Regions from separate parts of the Homo sapiens genome. Here regions 2, 3 and 4 are each linked to region 1. The links are contacts of gene promoters, found by promoter capture Hi-C in blood cells and fetal thymus (Javierre and others, 2016). All regions are on one chromosome and are shown on one strand. The core of a region is centred on a gene start or on the middle of the fragment in contact, and the rest is flanking DNA. Distances in the headings are between cores, read along the strand shown. Region 1 holds the start of KIF3C (kinesin family member 3C). Region 2 overlaps GAREM2 (GRB2 associated regulator of MAPK1 subtype 2). Region 3 has its middle 13 kb from the start of GAREM2. Region 4 overlaps HADHA (hydroxyacyl-CoA dehydrogenase trifunctional multienzyme complex subunit alpha).

Region 1 (3,783 bases), core at 1,217-3,716:
ACCTGGTCAATGTAAGCATTCTTATCCTCATTTATTCCACTGAAAAAATAGCTGTTCAGAGAAGTTAAATAATTTCCCCAGGATCACATATCTTTTTTTGTGTGTGTGAGATGGAGTCTTGCTTTGTCGCCAGGCTGGAGTGCAGTGGCGCCATCTAGCCTCACTGCAATCTCTGCCTCCTGGGTTCAAATTATTTTCCTGTCTCAGCCTCTCAAGTAGCTGGGACTACAGGCGTGCACCACCATGCCCAGCTAATTTTTGTATTTTTAGTAGAGATGAGGTTTCATGATGTTGGCCAAGATGGTCTCGATCTCTTGACCTCATGATCCACCCGCCTCGGCCTCCCAAAGTGCTGGGATTATAGGCGTGAGCCACCGCGCCTGGCCTAGGATCACACATCTTGTAAGCAACGCGATTCCAATCTCCCTCTCACACAAGAGGATCTGGGTAAGTCCCCTGCCAGGTGGTGACATCAAGTGGGGAGAACAGGGTGAGAATCCCTTTTATCCAGCGCTGTAGTGTCAGATACATTAGCCTAAGCAGAGAAAGGGTATTCAAAACCCAAAGCCGAATGCAACCAGAAAATAGTTGAAGAACTAAAGGCTCCATCCAGAAATCATGTTGTGAGAGCCAAGAGGGGTTAGTCTACGGAGCCAAAACCCCACCCCGTAATTGGTCCAAAAGCCATGTTAATCATAAGCAGTGGAGCTTAATCAAGGAGAGGGTGGAGGGAGGCCAGGGAGCTTCAGAAGCGGGCAAGCTCTCAGCTAAGTCTCAAGCCTCTAGTCCAGCTCACGCTAAAGTTCTGGGATGGGGAAGAGTTAAGGAGGTAAATTTTGTTGAGTTGGAAAACTAAACAATTGGGTCCTCTAGAGGATAACATGCTTGGAAATGTTTTGTGGAAAGACTCTTCTGGTGCCTCTGTGAAGAAGGGTCTCCAGGTTTCAGATAACAGCACCTCTCAATCTGGTTCTCATATGGAGAGTAAAGACAGACAGCTTGGGCTCAGTCCACAGACTCAACTGCCCTCTGCAGAGTGGACCATGGATAGGACTCTGGCTTGGTCCTTGGCCTTGTGGAATTACACTTTATTTGTATCCTACAGGAAAAAAAAAAAAGATTAAGACTCCCATAGAGGAACACCAAGCACAGACATGGTCTATCCAGGATACTCAAGGAAGCAGGAGCTGTCAGGCAATCCAAGCCAGGGCAGGACTTCTCATGGTACAGTACTTCATGATTCATTATTTCATTTGAGCCTCCCAACCATTCCATGAAGTAGTTGTTAATTATTTCTTTCCCGCCTCGAATTTTTAAAAAAATAAATGAGGAAACTAAGGCTGGAGCAAGGGGAGTGACTGCTCAAAGCCACTCCATTGGATGGCCATCAGAACTGGAACTTCAATCCAGGTTTTGTCTTAGGTAAATTCTGTGCCTCTTTCACTATAGAAAAAAAAAAATTGCTAAGGGAAGGCTTCGTGGAGGAGGAGGTGCTTGAACTGCCCAAGTGGCAGGGCACTAAGTGCCGAAGGGTGACCAGGCCTCTGGGCAAAAGCACAAAGATGCTGCACAGCAAAGCCAGTTAAAGAAACAAAACACGGTTCCGGGAATGTGCACTGCTTGAGGACAGGAAGGACCCAGATCCTAGAATGGGGCCTGGGGCTCAGCAGGCGCTGGATAACTGAAGAAATGGCTGTCTGGAACACAGATTTTTCTATAGAGGAGTAGTGGCGGTGAGGCTGCGAAGGCGGAAGATGGAGAGGCTTTCACACAAGGAAGGCGGTGGAGGAGGAGCGAGGGGGCTCCCGGGTGCTTGTGCGGACATAAGGTGCGAGAGAATCAGCTGGAAGGTGGGCTCCAGCAGAGAGAAGAGGAAGGCCAGAAGTAGACCGGGACAGGGGGAGGAAAGGACAGAGTCAAGGAACATTTAGGAGTTCGGTTCCCGGAGGCCTGGCGACACCCTGACGGGGAGGGGTGACGCGCACCCATTTGCAGGCAGAAAGGCAGGAGCAGGGGGGTGTCCGAGGATGGTGGCTCGGAGGGACCAGGCATAGGTGGTGCAAGCTCAGCAGTCACTCAAGGGGTGGCATGCGGATGAGGGAGGCGCCTCCCGGACTGGGGGACCGGGAAAGGCATTAGCAACCTGCCAGAACCCGGTTAACAAAGGCAGGACTACAATTCCCGGCATGCTCGGGCTCGGTGGGGTGACGGCGGGCGGTGGCTGCGCTGCACCCGACTGGTGGGCGCAGGACCTGGGTCGGCACCGGAGCCTGTCATCCCGGAGCGGTCGGCGGGGGTGCAGAGACGGCGATGCGCCCCTGTCCCCCGCACCCGGGCCGCTCCGGGCTCGCGCCTCCCGCCCCGCGGCCCCGCCCCCTGCCCCACCCCAGTCGGGAGGCTTAGCTGGGGCCGCAGCGCGGCGGCAACATCACTCTCGCTGCCGCTGCTCCGCCCCATCCCCTTCTGTTTTTCTCTCTCATTCTCCAGTGGCGGCGGCGGGGAAGGCGGAGGCAGAGGCAGCAGCAGCCGCGCTGGCTGCAATGAATGATCCCCCAGCTTGGGGGGAGGACTCCAGGTGAGCCTCTGCCCTCGGGAGGCCCGGGACCCCCGGCCGCCCACGACCGGCAGCCCACGCTATGGATCCCTAGAGGAAGGAGGAGAAGACAGCTCGCCGCCCACCCCCATCCCATTTTCCTCTTCCTTTATCTCATTGTTGCCGAAGCTGTTTACGGCAGCGCTCCCTCTGCTCCTGCATGGGGCGGGCTCCGGGCACGGCTGCTCGGCAGGCGCTGCTCCCGCGGCGACTGGGGGATTCTGCCTAATTCACCTCCCAGCCGGTGCAGAGAGGACCGGAGAGCGGTGGAGGCCCGGACTGCAGCAGCGTTGGGGCCACCTCCCAGCGTCCCCACCCTAGGAGGCTGCATGCGGATTGAAGAGCTGCGCCTGGGGGCTGGGCCGGCCCCGCTGATCCCGACCTAGCGAGCAGGATAGCAGGACCGCCCAGGCTGCGGAGGGGCTCGGGGGCAGGAAGGTCAGAGCAGCAAGATGGCCAGTAAGACCAAGGCCAGCGAGGCCCTCAAGGTGGTGGCCCGGTGCCGCCCCCTCAGCAGGAAGGAGGAGGCTGCTGGTCACGAGCAGATCCTGACCATGGACGTGAAACTGGGCCAGGTGACCCTGCGGAACCCCCGCGCCGCCCCGGGGGAGCTGCCCAAGACCTTCACCTTTGACGCCGTGTATGATGCCAGCTCCAAGCAGGCCGACCTGTATGACGAAACCGTGAGGCCCCTGATAGACTCCGTGCTCCAGGGTTTCAATGGCACGGTGTTTGCCTATGGCCAGACGGGCACTGGCAAGACCTATACCATGCAGGGGACCTGGGTGGAGCCCGAGCTGCGCGGGGTCATCCCGAATGCCTTTGAGCACATCTTCACCCACATCTCCCGCTCCCAGAACCAACAGTACCTGGTCCGGGCCTCCTATTTGGAGATCTACCAGGAAGAGATTCGAGACCTGCTCTCCAAGGAGCCGGGCAAGAGGCTAGAGCTGAAAGAGAACCCCGAGACTGGCGTCTACATCAAGGACCTCTCCTCCTTCGTCACCAAGAATGTCAAGGAGATTGAGCATGTGATGAACCTGGGGAACCAGACCCGGGCTGTGGGCAGCACCCACATGAATGAGGTCAGCTCCCGCTCCCATGCCATCTTCATCATCACTGTGGAGTGCAGCGAACGTGGCTCTGATGGCCAGGACCACATCCGAGTGGGCAAGCTCAACCTCGTGGAC
Region 2 (3,887 bases), core at 394-2,893, 190 kb before region 1:
CTGGGACCTCCCCCTGAACCAAGCTTGGAAATTTCTAGCTTGAGCAGGCCCCCAGTGGGCTCCAAGCCCAAGATAGAACCCCAGGTCAGAAAGAAATCTGAGTGAGTTTCCACATCTTTTAAGGGTTTGGGGGGTGGAGTACACAGGTACCAACTTCACAGGCTGTAAAAGACAGAAGCCTCTGTAAAGGGCTCAGTCCTGTCCTCCTGGCTCAGGGAGACCCAGGGCCAGAGGAGGCAGGGGTACCTGTGAAGAAGCAATGGGACCTTCCCAGCCTTGGTGAGGGGGTTGTCAGGAGCAGCTGGGCACAGCAGTTAAAAACACAGAACTGGGCTGGGTTTGGTGGCTGACACCTGTAATTCCAGCACTTTGGGAGGCCAAGGCGGCCGGATCACTTGAGGTCAGGAGTTTGAGACCAGCCTGGCCAACATGGTGAAACCCTGTCTCTACTAAAAATACAAAAATTAGCAGAGAGTGGTGGCAGGCACCTGTAATCCCAGCTACTTGGTAGGCCGAGGCAGGAGAATCCCTTGAACCTCGGAGGCAGTGAGCCAAGATGGCGCCTCTCCTCTCCAGCCTGAGCAACAGAAAACACACACACACACACAGAACTGGGCCTGGCCCAGTGACTCACACCTATAATCCCAGCACTCTGGGAGACTGAGGCAGGAGGCTTCATTGAGACCAGGAGTTTGAGACCATCCTGGGCAACATAAGGAGACCATCTCTAAAAACACAAAAAATGAAATAAAAAACATGGCACTGGGCAAGCCACTGAAACTCCTGGAGCCTCAGTTTCCTGGTGAGTTAAATGGAGTTGACAAGACTTTCTCATCAGGTTGCCATGAGGATGAAATGGCAAAAATGTTCGGCCCAGCATATGGCATGCAGCACATGCTTAACACATGGCAGATGTGGGATCCGGGGCTCACACGGGGACGTCTCTGGGATGGGGCCACCAGACTCCCATCCCTCCCACACAGGGGACAGCAACCACACGCTCCTGGTGTAGTGCAGCAGACACCAGCCCTCAGTTGAGATACCTGGATCTGGCCAGGCTCTTCCTTTCCTAGATGTGTGACACGGGGCAAGTCACCTCCTCCCCCAAGCCTTCCGTTTCATCATCTGTAAAAGGAAGGGGCTGTACTCTGTTTTGGTAACAGAATCCTTTCTTCAAACAAAATCTTATTATATGTCAACGTCACGTATAAAACTAATAAAGGTAGTCCATTAGCATAATCTTTAGAAGTCTAAAATTTTTAATATTCACTTATAAAGTCAACCAATGGAAACAATAGGTTTAACGCAAAAATTGGGAAAAACAGGATCAGCGCGGAGAGGTGCAGCCATGTAACCAGCTTGGGCATTCGCTGGTTTCTGCGGTATTTGGTTGCGCGGTACAGAAAAGGTCCTGGCAGGACATGTTCTCTTGGAGGGTCTGCACAAAGATGGCTAAGCGTGGCAGCCGAAGGTATACCCTGAAGGCCTCTGATTAGGGTTAAGCTCTGATGTGTAGTAATTTAAGAGTGTGGGTATTTTTTAATCATTAGTTTCAAATCTACTTTAAAATAAAATGTGAATCAAAAAACCTGTGAGCCACCTCTCCAGAAACCCAGAGTGCCACAGAACAGAATGAAAACTGCTGGGCTCTGACTCCAACCCTAACCCTAATCACCGCCTCGCTAGTCCCAGCGTTCCCCCTACCCCTGGCCCCAGTCCCTCCTGCCTACACCCCCCTACAGGCTTTATGACATCTGTCCTGGCTGGACACACCTGGGTACTGCAGGGGGATGTCGATCTTGGGCCCGATGACATAGTGGCCCTCCTCCAGGGTATGAGCTGTCACCGTTGTCCACTGCCGGCAGGAGTGGATGAGCAGGATGTCTCGCTCACTGACGCCCTCGGCGTACTCCCCTGGGAAGGGGGAGGAGGACAGAGGATGAGGGGAAGGAAGACAGGACATTAGAAGGGGCAGAAAGAACAGATAGTGACGTCCTCACCAAGACCGCCCCCCTGAGGGACAGCTCCACACAATCCCTGTCCAGGTCAGCAAAGCTCAAGGGACAGGCGGGCTGCCAGCTGGGGCCTGGGGCTGTGGGGCTGGCTGTGAGCCTCTCAGGGCTGTGACTCCCGACGGGGCCCCTCGTTCATCAGTGGCTGGAATGCCTGCTGTCCCTGGCTCTGAGCTGGAGCAGGGGGAGCTCCCCATGGATGAGCCCAGACCAGCCCCTGCCCTCCAGGAGCCCTTAGGCCCCTGGGGAGGTGGGCAGAGATGTACCAGAGACTAGGCAAGTTTGAGGCACTGACTGGAGTATGTCTGGGGACCCGGAGGGCAGCAGTAGGCTCCAGCTGGGGGTGTGGTGGCGAAGGGAGACTTTATTGAGCAGGAGATGCTGGAGCTGTGCTTCCCAGTCAGGGCCTAGGCCCTGCAAGAAGGGCCCTACTGGGGCAGTGGAGAGGGCCCGGACGGGACTGTCCCTTATAAGGTCCCAGCTGTGAGAGCTCCCCCAGAGCCACGGGTCGCTCAGGTCAGGAGAATGACAGGGCTTAGAGCAGCTGATTACTGCCTCTCCCAAGGGCAGCCCTTCCTTTCCACCCACTGCCTTGTTCAGGGGACCTCGAAGGAGAGGGGGGGAGTCCCCAGAAACCCCCAACCCCATCTCAGAGAAGCCACCCACTGCCTTGTCAAGGGGACCTCGAAGGAGAGGGGGGAGTCCCCAGAAACCCCCAACCCCATCTCAGAGAAGCAGCTCCTTGACACCCCCTCCCCACGCCCCCTCATCCTCCCAGTTACAGGGGTGACGGCTGAGGGTTGGAGGGGTTGAGAGAGCAGGTTTAGAAGGCAGGAGTGGGAGGCCCAGCCCTGGGGCCTGGGGGAAGCTGCTCTGGGGCAGAGGTGTTGGGAGTTGGGAGGGGTCTGGGCCTGGAGGCGCCAACCCCAGCAACGGTTTCCAGGGGAGCAGGAGGGGCAGCCCAGCTTCCAGGAGGCAGAAGGGGCTGTGTCCGGGCTGCAGCTGGTGGGGAGGGTGGGGGTAGGGAGTACCTCCTTCCTTTCTCCTTCAGGCACAACTTACAAAATTTCTGCCAATCAAATGGGAAATGGTTTACTCTGATGGCTGGGGGCTCCATAAAATGTGTACATGTGGGGTAGGCGTGTGTGTGTATGTGTGTGTGTGTGTGTGGCAGGGTGGCGGGCGGTTCAAGACGCACAGGAAGGGCCTGGCCCCCACTATGTGTGTGTTGGGGGTGTTGTCTAAGCTTTCCCCTGTACCTCCTCACCTCCGGGGGCCCAAGAAGCTCTCCTCCAACTCTGCTCCCTCCTCTGAGAGCTGTCCTGGGTCCTAGCCCCATCTTCACAGCCACATGGGCACACAGCAGTAATCATGGCTCATGACCACCAACAGCTGAACCACAATAGCCCACAGTGACAGATGCTTGTCACCCAAACAACATAACTCAGTCTCCGGCCAAGGGGCCCCTCCCAAATGCACAGGCACACAGGGACCTACCCTTCAAGCCATACAATTCTGACCAGACATTCACACCCTGATGGTGACCCAGCCATAGCCACACACTGTCACACACAACAGACAGCTGGGCCATCACACCAGTTGTTCATTCACTCACCCATTCATTCAATCCATAATCTTTATTGGGCAAGGATGCCTGGTCTCAAGGAGCCCACAGCCAGGTCTAAAGACAATAAACTGACTGACCATTATAATGGGGTGCACAGTAGGAGACAAGCCAGAGTTGGCATGAGGTGGCCGGGGAGCCCAAAGGAGGCCCTACGCAGACCGAGGAGCTCAGAAAAGCTGCCCAGAAAGGGGAGATGCCAAAAAGGATGTGTGGGAAGTGGCCAGAAGACCCCAGGGCAGCGACCTCCA
Region 3 (4,186 bases), core at 397-2,896, 180 kb before region 1:
TATTTTTTTGAGACAGAGTCTTACTCTGTCGCCCCAGCTGGAGCGATCTTGGCTCACTGCAACCTTTGCCTCCCAGGTTCAAGCAATTCTCATGCCTTAGCCCCCAGGTAGCTGGGATTACAGGCGTGCACCACCACGCCCAGCTAATGTTTGTATTTAGTAGAGATGGGGTTTCACCATGTTGGCCAGACAGGTCTCGAACTCCTGACCTCAAGTGATCCACCCGCCTTGGCCTCCCAAAGTGCTGGGATTACAGGCATGTGCCACTGCACCCAGCCCATCTCTTGCTTTTTAAATGGTGTTCTTTACTTTCAAAACATGGCAAGTTTCAGAATCCTTTAAAAATTACTTTATTCGGGTTGGGCATGGTGGCTCACGCCTGTAATCCCAGCACTTTGGGAGGCTGAGGTGGTCTGACCAACATGGCGAAACCCCATCTCTACTAAAAATGCAAAATTAGCCAGACATGGTGGTGGGTGCCTGTAATCCCAGCTACTCGGGAGGCTGAGGCAGGAGAATCGCTTGAACCCAGGAAGCAGAGGTTACAGTGGGCCGAGATCATGCCACTGCACTCCAGCCTGGGCAACAGAGCGAGACTCTGTCTCAAAAAAAAAAAAATTATTCAAACTGTTTCCCAAAAGAGAGGTTTTGTGTCAGTGGTCTTTCACACCATTTCAGAATCACACTTGCCTGAACATCTCAGATGGACTTGGTGTCATCTGGGCTTAAGTGACTGCAAATGATGGAGTAAAACTGTAGAAATAGGCCGGGCGAGGTGGCTCACACCTGTAATCCCAGCACTTTGGGAGGCCGAGGCAGGCGGATCCCAAGGTCAGGAGATCGAGACCATCCTGGCTAACACAGTGAAACCCCGTCTCTACTAAAAATACAAAAAATTAGCTGGGCGTGGTGGCGGGCGCCTATAGTTCCAGCTACTTGGGAGGCTGAGGTAGGAGAATGGTGTGAACCCGGGAGGCGGAGCTTGCAATGAGCCGAGATCGCGCCACTGCACTCCAGCCTGGGCAACAGAGCGAGACTGTCTCACAAAAAAAAAAAAAACAAAAAAAACAAAAAAATAAAACCGGTTGAAATAATCCAACATCTTTTCTGTGAGCCAAGTCAATAATTAGCTGGGGATCCAACAGCTTTGCCTTTGTCGCCTGAAACAGATTGTCCAACAATTCCCCTGAAATTCCAATCTGTGCAATAAGACAAATACATCAATGGAGTAGAATAGAGACCTCGGAAATAGATCCACACAAATATAGTCAACTGATCTCTGACAAAGGAGGAGAGGCAATTCAATGGAAAAAGCACAGTCTTTTTCAACAAATGGTTCCAGAACAATTGGACATACATATAACAAAAAAACTAATCTAGACACAGACCTTACATCCTTCACAAGAATTATTTCAAAATGGATCATAGACCTAAATGTAAAATATAAAATAATAGCACTCCTAGAGAATAACACAAGAGAAAATCTAGGTGACCTTGGGTTGGGTGACAACTTACTTTAAGATAAACACCAAAAGCACTCCTCTGCCAATCTGAGCAATAGATAGACCTGGATAATATGCATGGCTCCAAAAGCGTGGTGTAGCTTCCTTCTCCAGATTTAAGACCTGATGTCTTGAAGATGGCAGCAAATCCTAGGAGTTGACACACTGGCATTCCACTGGAATCAGAACAGGAAAAGGAGCGAGATCCCCTAGTTCCTGGGGAAATAGAGTTGTTCCCAGCACAAAACCATAGCATAATTGGTACTTTTTTTTTTTTTGAGACAGTCTCACTGGCTTTGTCACCTAGGCTGGAGTGCAGTGGCGCGATCTCAGCTCACTGCAGCCTTCGCCTCCTGGGTTCAAGCGATTCTCCTGCCTCAGCCTCCCGAGTGGCTGGGATTACAGTCATGCACCACCACGCCTGGCTCACTTTCTTTAAAATTATTTTTAGTAGAGATGGGGTTTCACCATGTTGGCCAGGCTGGTCTTGAACCCCTGGCCTCAGGTGATCCGCCCACCAAGGAGTTTCCAGAAGTTGTGGGAAAGCCCCCACCCAGTCACCTACAGAGTGACTGAACAACTGATGGGAACGCCTTCATGGTCAATTGGATTATCTTTCATGTTATGGTCCTGACCTCACTAGTAAACCCAGTGTAAACTCAAAACTCACTGTGAAATCACTATTACATGACATGAGAATCTCTACTTTTTAATCAAATTACAGATTTCAATTTATTTGTATTGTCAGTGGAATCTTTTCTTCTTTTTCTTTTTTTTATTTTTTATTTTTATTTTTATTTTTATTTTTTTTGAGTCAAAGTCTTGCTCTGTCCCCCAGGCTGGAGTGCAGTGGCACAATCTCGGCTCACTGCAACCTTCACCTCCCAAGTTCAAGCGATTCTCCTGCCTCAGCCTCCCAAGTAGCTGGGATTACAGACTCGTGCCACCACGCCCGGCTAATTTTTGTATTTTTAGTAGAGACAGGGTTTCACCATGTTGGCCAGACTTGTTTCGAACTGCTGACTTCAAGTGATCCACCCACTTTGGCCTCCCCAAGAGTTGGGATTATAGGCAGGAGTCACTGCACCCGGCCAGTCAGTGGAATCTTATTAAGTCAAATTGTTACAGTAGGTAGCTAGTCAGGTATGAGCAGCGCCGGAGAGTGCTCCCCACCAACACATAGACCAGGCGTGTTGGGAGACCTGTCAGGTGATGGTCAGGTGGTTGTTAACTGTTTCTCTTTTTTTTTTTTTTTTTTTGAGACAGGGTCTTGCTCTGTCACCCAGGCTGGAGGGCAGTGGCATGATCTCGGCTCACTGCAACCTCTGCCTCCTGGGTTCAAGCGACTCTCCTGCCTCAGTCTCCCAAGTAGCTGGGACTACAGGCCCGCGCCACCAAGCCTGACTAATTTTTGCATTTTTAGTAGAGATGGTGGGGGGAGGTGTCACTATGTTGGCCAGGCTGGTCTTGAACTCCTGGCCTCAGGTGATCCGCCCTTCTCGGCCTCCCAAAGTGCTGGGATTACAGGCATGAGCCACTGTGCCCGGCCACCTGTTTCTCTAAAGTAATAATTCGTCACAGCTGGTGCCAGGGAAGGACAGTTTCCTAATAGATAGAAAATACCTGAAACTGATCAGCAGCTTCCCAGTAAGATCTCAGGAATGGGGAGAAGTTATAATGCAAGATCCCGGAAGTATGCCAATATATAAAGCCCCAAGTCCAGAGGTCAAGCTGCACACTGGTTTCTCAGGTCATCCCACTTCCCTCTTCCAAGTTGTATTTTCCTTCTTTTTTTTCCCTTTCCTTCCTTTCCTTACTGTTCTAAAGCTTTTTAATAAACTTCCACTCCTGCTCTGAAACATGCCTCTGTCTCTTCTGCCCTATGCCCCTCGGTTGAATTCTTTCTTCCAAGGAGGCAAGAATTAAGGTTGCCGCAGATCCGTACAGATTCACCGTGGGTAACTCCAGGTAACTCAGATATCTTCCATCAGTAACGAAACTGTTTAATTTACTAATGAACCATTGATTAAATTATGTAACACTATTTTTTAAAATCGAGGTAACATTCACATAAATTTACATTCACAACAAATTTAAACTTCATCATTTAAGAATTTAAAATTTAGGCTAAGCACAGTGGCTCATGCCTGTAATTTTAACACTTTGAGACAGGAGGCTGAGACAGGAAGATTGCTTGAGGCCAGGAGTTTGAGACCAGGCTTGGCAATATAGCAAGACCTTGTCTCTACAAAAAATAGAAAAATTAGCCAGGTGTGGTGGTACATACCTGTAGTCCCAGCTACTAGGGAGGCTGAGGCAGGAGGATCACTTGAGCCCAAAAGTTCGAAGTTACAGTGAGCTATGATCAAGCCACTTCACTCCAGCCTGGGCGAAAGGGAGAGACCCTATCTCTGAAAAAAAAAAAAAAAAAAAAAAAAGGACAATTCAGTGGCATTTAGTACATTTGCAATGTTGTGCAATCATCCTCACTAGTTCCAGGACATTTTCATCACCTAAAAGGAAATTCCGCGCCCATTAAGCAGTCACTCCCCATTTCAATCCTCAGCCCTCGCAACCACTGATTTGTTTCCTGTCTCTATAGATGTACCTCTTCTGGCTATTTCATATGATGGAATCATATAACAAGTGGCCTTTTGTGTCTGGCTTCACTCATTTACCATAAT
Region 4 (3,676 bases), core at 598-3,097, 210 kb before region 1:
GGGAAGACTATGTAACTGTTAGCTCAATGAGGGGTTTCTCTGAAACCTTAGCACGCATCAGAATCACCAGGAGGGATTATTAAAACAAATCTGGGCCCCACCCATGGAGTTTCTGATTCAGTAGGGCTGGGCTAGGCCTGAGAATGTGCAGGCCTAACGCTCCCAGGTGATGACAGTGCTTGTTGGGTCCGGGTACTACACTTGGAGAACTGCTGGTTTAATGAGTCTTAAGTGCATCTGACTGTTGAGGAGTGTTAGTTAAACCTAGTATCCTGGTGGTGAGACCCATCTGTGTAAAATGCAAATACTTCTCTGACAGCCCAACACATTAATTCTTCTGCCTGCCCCACCCCCGCCCAAAAAAACTGGATCCTCTTATCTAAACCATCAGTATCATTAATATAAGTGGAACCTTCATCCGTCGTTCCCCAATAAATCTAGTTTGGCCTCGAGCTGTGGTTTTGGCACTGATTGTTGGGAGGATCAGATGTCTGTAGTGAAAAACCTTAGAAGCAAATGGAAGAGGAGGATTCCAATGTGCTCTCCCTAAACATACTAAACTTTTATCAAAGACCCATGGAACCAAACCACTCAGCTATGTCAAGCAGTATTCCTATATCACAGCCACCTTTCTTTCTAGTGTTTTCCTAGCAGAGAAGGAATGCTCTCAGGTTCCTCACCCGCATTCTCCGATCTGTTGGCTTTTGGTTCCCCTTGCCAGGTGATTGGCATGCACTACTTCTCTCCCGTGGACAAGATGCAGCTGCTGGAGATTATCACGACCGAGAAAACTTCCAAAGACACCAGTGCTTCAGCTGTAGCAGTTGGTCTCAAGCAGGGGAAGGTCATCATTGTGGTTAAGGTAAGGGGCTGTATAACAGAGCTGCAGAGTTTTTGAAAAGTTCTAATAAGACTCCTTTTACCTCCAGGCTTGTTTATAAATATTCTGGGGCAAATGACCAGACTTTGATATGATTTTCCCCTGGGTTGTCTCCAGGATGGACGGTGGTATTGACTGTCCCACTGAGTCAAGGTGGGAGTGGGGAGTATCTAGGATGTGGCAGGGTTCTCCCAGCCATCCCAGACCTTGAAGGTGACCATGAAACTATCTGCTGTACTGTTTGATTCAAGCCAGGCTACCCCTAGTACGGCTTCCCCTGCAATTTCATTTTTAAGGATTCTGATTGAGATTTTAAGTCACCTTAAGTTTTACAGTGACTTTCAAATGACTTTGAAGTGACCCTGGGAAAGGTAGAGTGTTTCAGACTCAGTCCCAGCAGCAGGGCCAGGGAGCTCATGTTCTCTTCCTTGGCAGGATGGACCTGGCTTCTATACTACCAGGTGTCTTGCGCCCATGATGTCTGAAGTCATCCGAATCCTCCAGGTTGGTATTGCTCTCCAGAGTGTTTGCGGCATCTTCCACTCCTTCAGTCACTCTAAAACTCATGATGTCAAGATAAGGACCAAGCTTCCTTCTGATACACCAACTCCTGCTCTTGTCTAGGAAGGTCCCTGGTGCCCTCTCTCTGCACAGCAGTCGGAAGTTGGGCTTATACTGCACTGAAAGGGGCAGAGCTTTCCCTCTGCCCCACAGCCTCCTCACTGTTCCAGCAAGCTAAAGGCACCCCACCCCCCAGCATGTCTTCTATGCTGTTTCTGCACCTCTCTGAGGCAGGGACCATCCAGAACAGGGCCCGCTTGGTTCAACTGGTGCTGCATCTGTTTCCACAGCACACAGACCTCTCCAGTAGCCATCGAGGTCATTCTGGCAGGAAAGGAGAGGGATCCTCCTCGCTGGGCACTTACCCAGACTTGGGGATCACAGGGCTCTGAGTGCTCCTCTTTGATGATGTTTCTTCTGTTGGTCATGACACACTCAGCCGTCTGTCATGCAATCTCCTTATTATTGAGATTCAGAAATGCAAACAAGAAGAAAATGAAGAATTTAGTCATCTCTAAACGTCCTTAAAGTGCTGTAGATTAGAGAAGGCTCAGACTTTCCACTTGTGGCCCCAAACTTCTTTGTGCTTCCCTGAATGAAATAGCACCAGTCCTGGGCCTGGTCAGGTGACACTCAGAAGTGGGTTTTACACAAGGCAGTGTTTGGAGCCAGTACAGGGAGCCCTTTGGGGGGATTTGGGCTGCCCTTCCCCTGAGGTCCCTGCATCGCTTCCTGTTCAGGAAGGAGTTGACCCGAAGAAGCTGGATTCCCTGACCACAAGCTTTGGCTTTCCTGTGGGTGCCGCCACACTGGTGGATGAAGTTGGTGTGGATGTAGCGAAACATGTGGCGGAAGATCTGGGCAAAGTCTTTGGGGAGCGGTTTGGAGGTGGAAACCCAGAACTGCTGACACAGATGGTGTCCAAGGGCTTCCTAGGTGAGTAGCCTCAAGGAAACATAACTAGCACCATTAGTTACAAAGTTCTAAGCAGTTCCTGAGACCAAAGAGTTACAGAAGCCCTCGTGGAAGAAAGTTTTCTAAACACAGAGCCCTTATCACTGGCGATTTCAAAAATGATTTTATGAGTCAGGTGCGGTAGCAACCACTTATGGTCTTAGCTGCTTAGGAGGCTGAGGTGGGAGGATCGCTTGAGCCCAGAAGTGTGAGGCCAGCCTGGGCAACATGGCGAGGCCCCTTCTCAAAAAAAAAAAAAAAAAAAGATGTCATGTGAACCTTCTAAGGGCTAGGACTATAGATTATGGACAAAAGGCAGAGTTCTACCCTTCTGGGGCTCTAGCATCACCTGGTCCAAGTTATGCCAGATGGACAAGCATTTTTATCCCCCAGAGATGAAATCTGCAATAGTGCAGAAGCAAGCTCTGCATCCGGGCTTTACCATGCTGTCTGGCCACCTGTGAGGAGAATGTATAAGCTCACCATACACAGTATACAGTTGAGGCCCACAGAGAAGTGACTTTCTGTCTTGGCAAAACAGCAAAATCAGCATTACAACCTGGGTGTTCTAGGACCCGGTGCTGCATATGGGGATGTTAAAACTCACCCAGGTGGCCTTTCTCATCCATGTACACAGATGCCCAAGCTCCGGGTCACAAGATCTTCTTTCCTTCTCTGCCCACTCTTCTGACAAAGACTAATTTGCTAGGGTTAGCTAGACATACAAATTCAGGAATTCAGAAGAGGCCAGAGCTTTATAATAGACCAACAGAGACAAGAATTCTCAGGTCAGGGTCTTTTTTGTTTGTTTTTTGTTTTTTTTTGAGACAGAGTCTCACACTGTTGCCCAGGCTGGAGTGCAGTGGCATAATCTCGTCTCCACCTCCCGGGTTCAAGCGATCCTCCTGCTTCGCCCAGCTAATTTTTGTATTTTTAGTAGAGATGGGGTTTCACCATGTTGGCCAGGCTGGTCTCAAACTCCTGACCTCAAATGATCCTCCGCCTCGGCCTCCCAAAGTGCTGGGATTACAGGCGTGAGCCACCACGCCTGGCCAGGCCAGGGTTCTGAGAACAAATAGTAACACTCCCTCCCTGAGAACAAATAGTAACACTCCCTTTTCTTGCCTGTTTTAGGTCGTAAATCTGGGAAGGGCTTTTACATCTATCAGGAGGGTGTGAAGAGGAAGGATTTGAATTCTGACATGGATAGTATTTTAGCGAGTCTGAAGCTGCCTCCTAAGTCTGAAGTGTAAGTCCGTTTGAGTGGCTAATGCCTGGAAA

Evidence for each region. Contacts are between HindIII fragments. The CHiCAGO score rates a contact against its expected background, and 5 or more counts as called.
Region 2: a contact is called between a fragment that was not itself captured here and the fragment with the promoter of KIF3C in region 1, in 2 of 17 cell types (M2 macrophages and neutrophils). The highest score is 6.4, in M2 macrophages.
Region 3: a fragment that was not itself captured here is called in contact with the fragment with the promoter of KIF3C in region 1 in 6 of 17 cell types (erythroblasts, M2 macrophages, megakaryocytes and 3 more); the score reaches 6.5 in erythroblasts.
Region 4: a fragment that was not itself captured here is called in contact with the fragment with the promoter of KIF3C in region 1 in 1 of 17 cell types (M2 macrophages); the score reaches 5.2 in M2 macrophages.

What each region holds. Positions count from the first base shown.
Region 1 is chr2:25,981,180-25,984,962 of GRCh38, reverse strand. It overlaps KIF3C (kinesin family member 3C), which reads left to right and starts at 2,466. Exons shown (of 8, transcript NM_002254.8): 1 at 2,466-3,783. The coding sequence starts at 3,046. RefSeq lists silencers at 2,218-2,387, 2,528-2,687 and enhancers at 2,677-3,186, 3,187-3,695. The HindIII fragment of the contact is 7,922 bases long and covers 1-3,783 here.
Region 2 is chr2:26,174,371-26,178,257 of GRCh38, reverse strand. GAREM2 (GRB2 associated regulator of MAPK1 subtype 2) reads right to left here. Exons shown (of 6, transcript NM_001168241.2): 2 at 1,774-1,914. Among named protein-coding and RNA genes, the nearest start is that of GAREM2, 3.2 kb to the right of the region's middle. RefSeq lists an enhancer at 2,170-2,708. The HindIII fragment of the contact is 3,235 bases long and covers 26-3,260 here.
Region 3 is chr2:26,157,579-26,161,764 of GRCh38, reverse strand. No RefSeq gene overlaps it. Among named protein-coding and RNA genes, the nearest start is that of GAREM2, 13 kb to the left of the region's middle. The HindIII fragment of the contact is 3,371 bases long and covers 1-3,331 here.
Region 4 is chr2:26,192,278-26,195,953 of GRCh38, reverse strand. HADHA (hydroxyacyl-CoA dehydrogenase trifunctional multienzyme complex subunit alpha) reads left to right here. Exons shown (of 20, transcript NM_000182.5): 15 at 722-862; 16 at 1,316-1,384; 17 at 2,182-2,377; 18 at 3,530-3,644. It also overlaps a transcript of GAREM2 not described here. Among named protein-coding and RNA genes, the nearest start is that of GAREM2, 21 kb to the right of the region's middle. The HindIII fragment of the contact is 754 bases long and covers 1,471-2,224 here.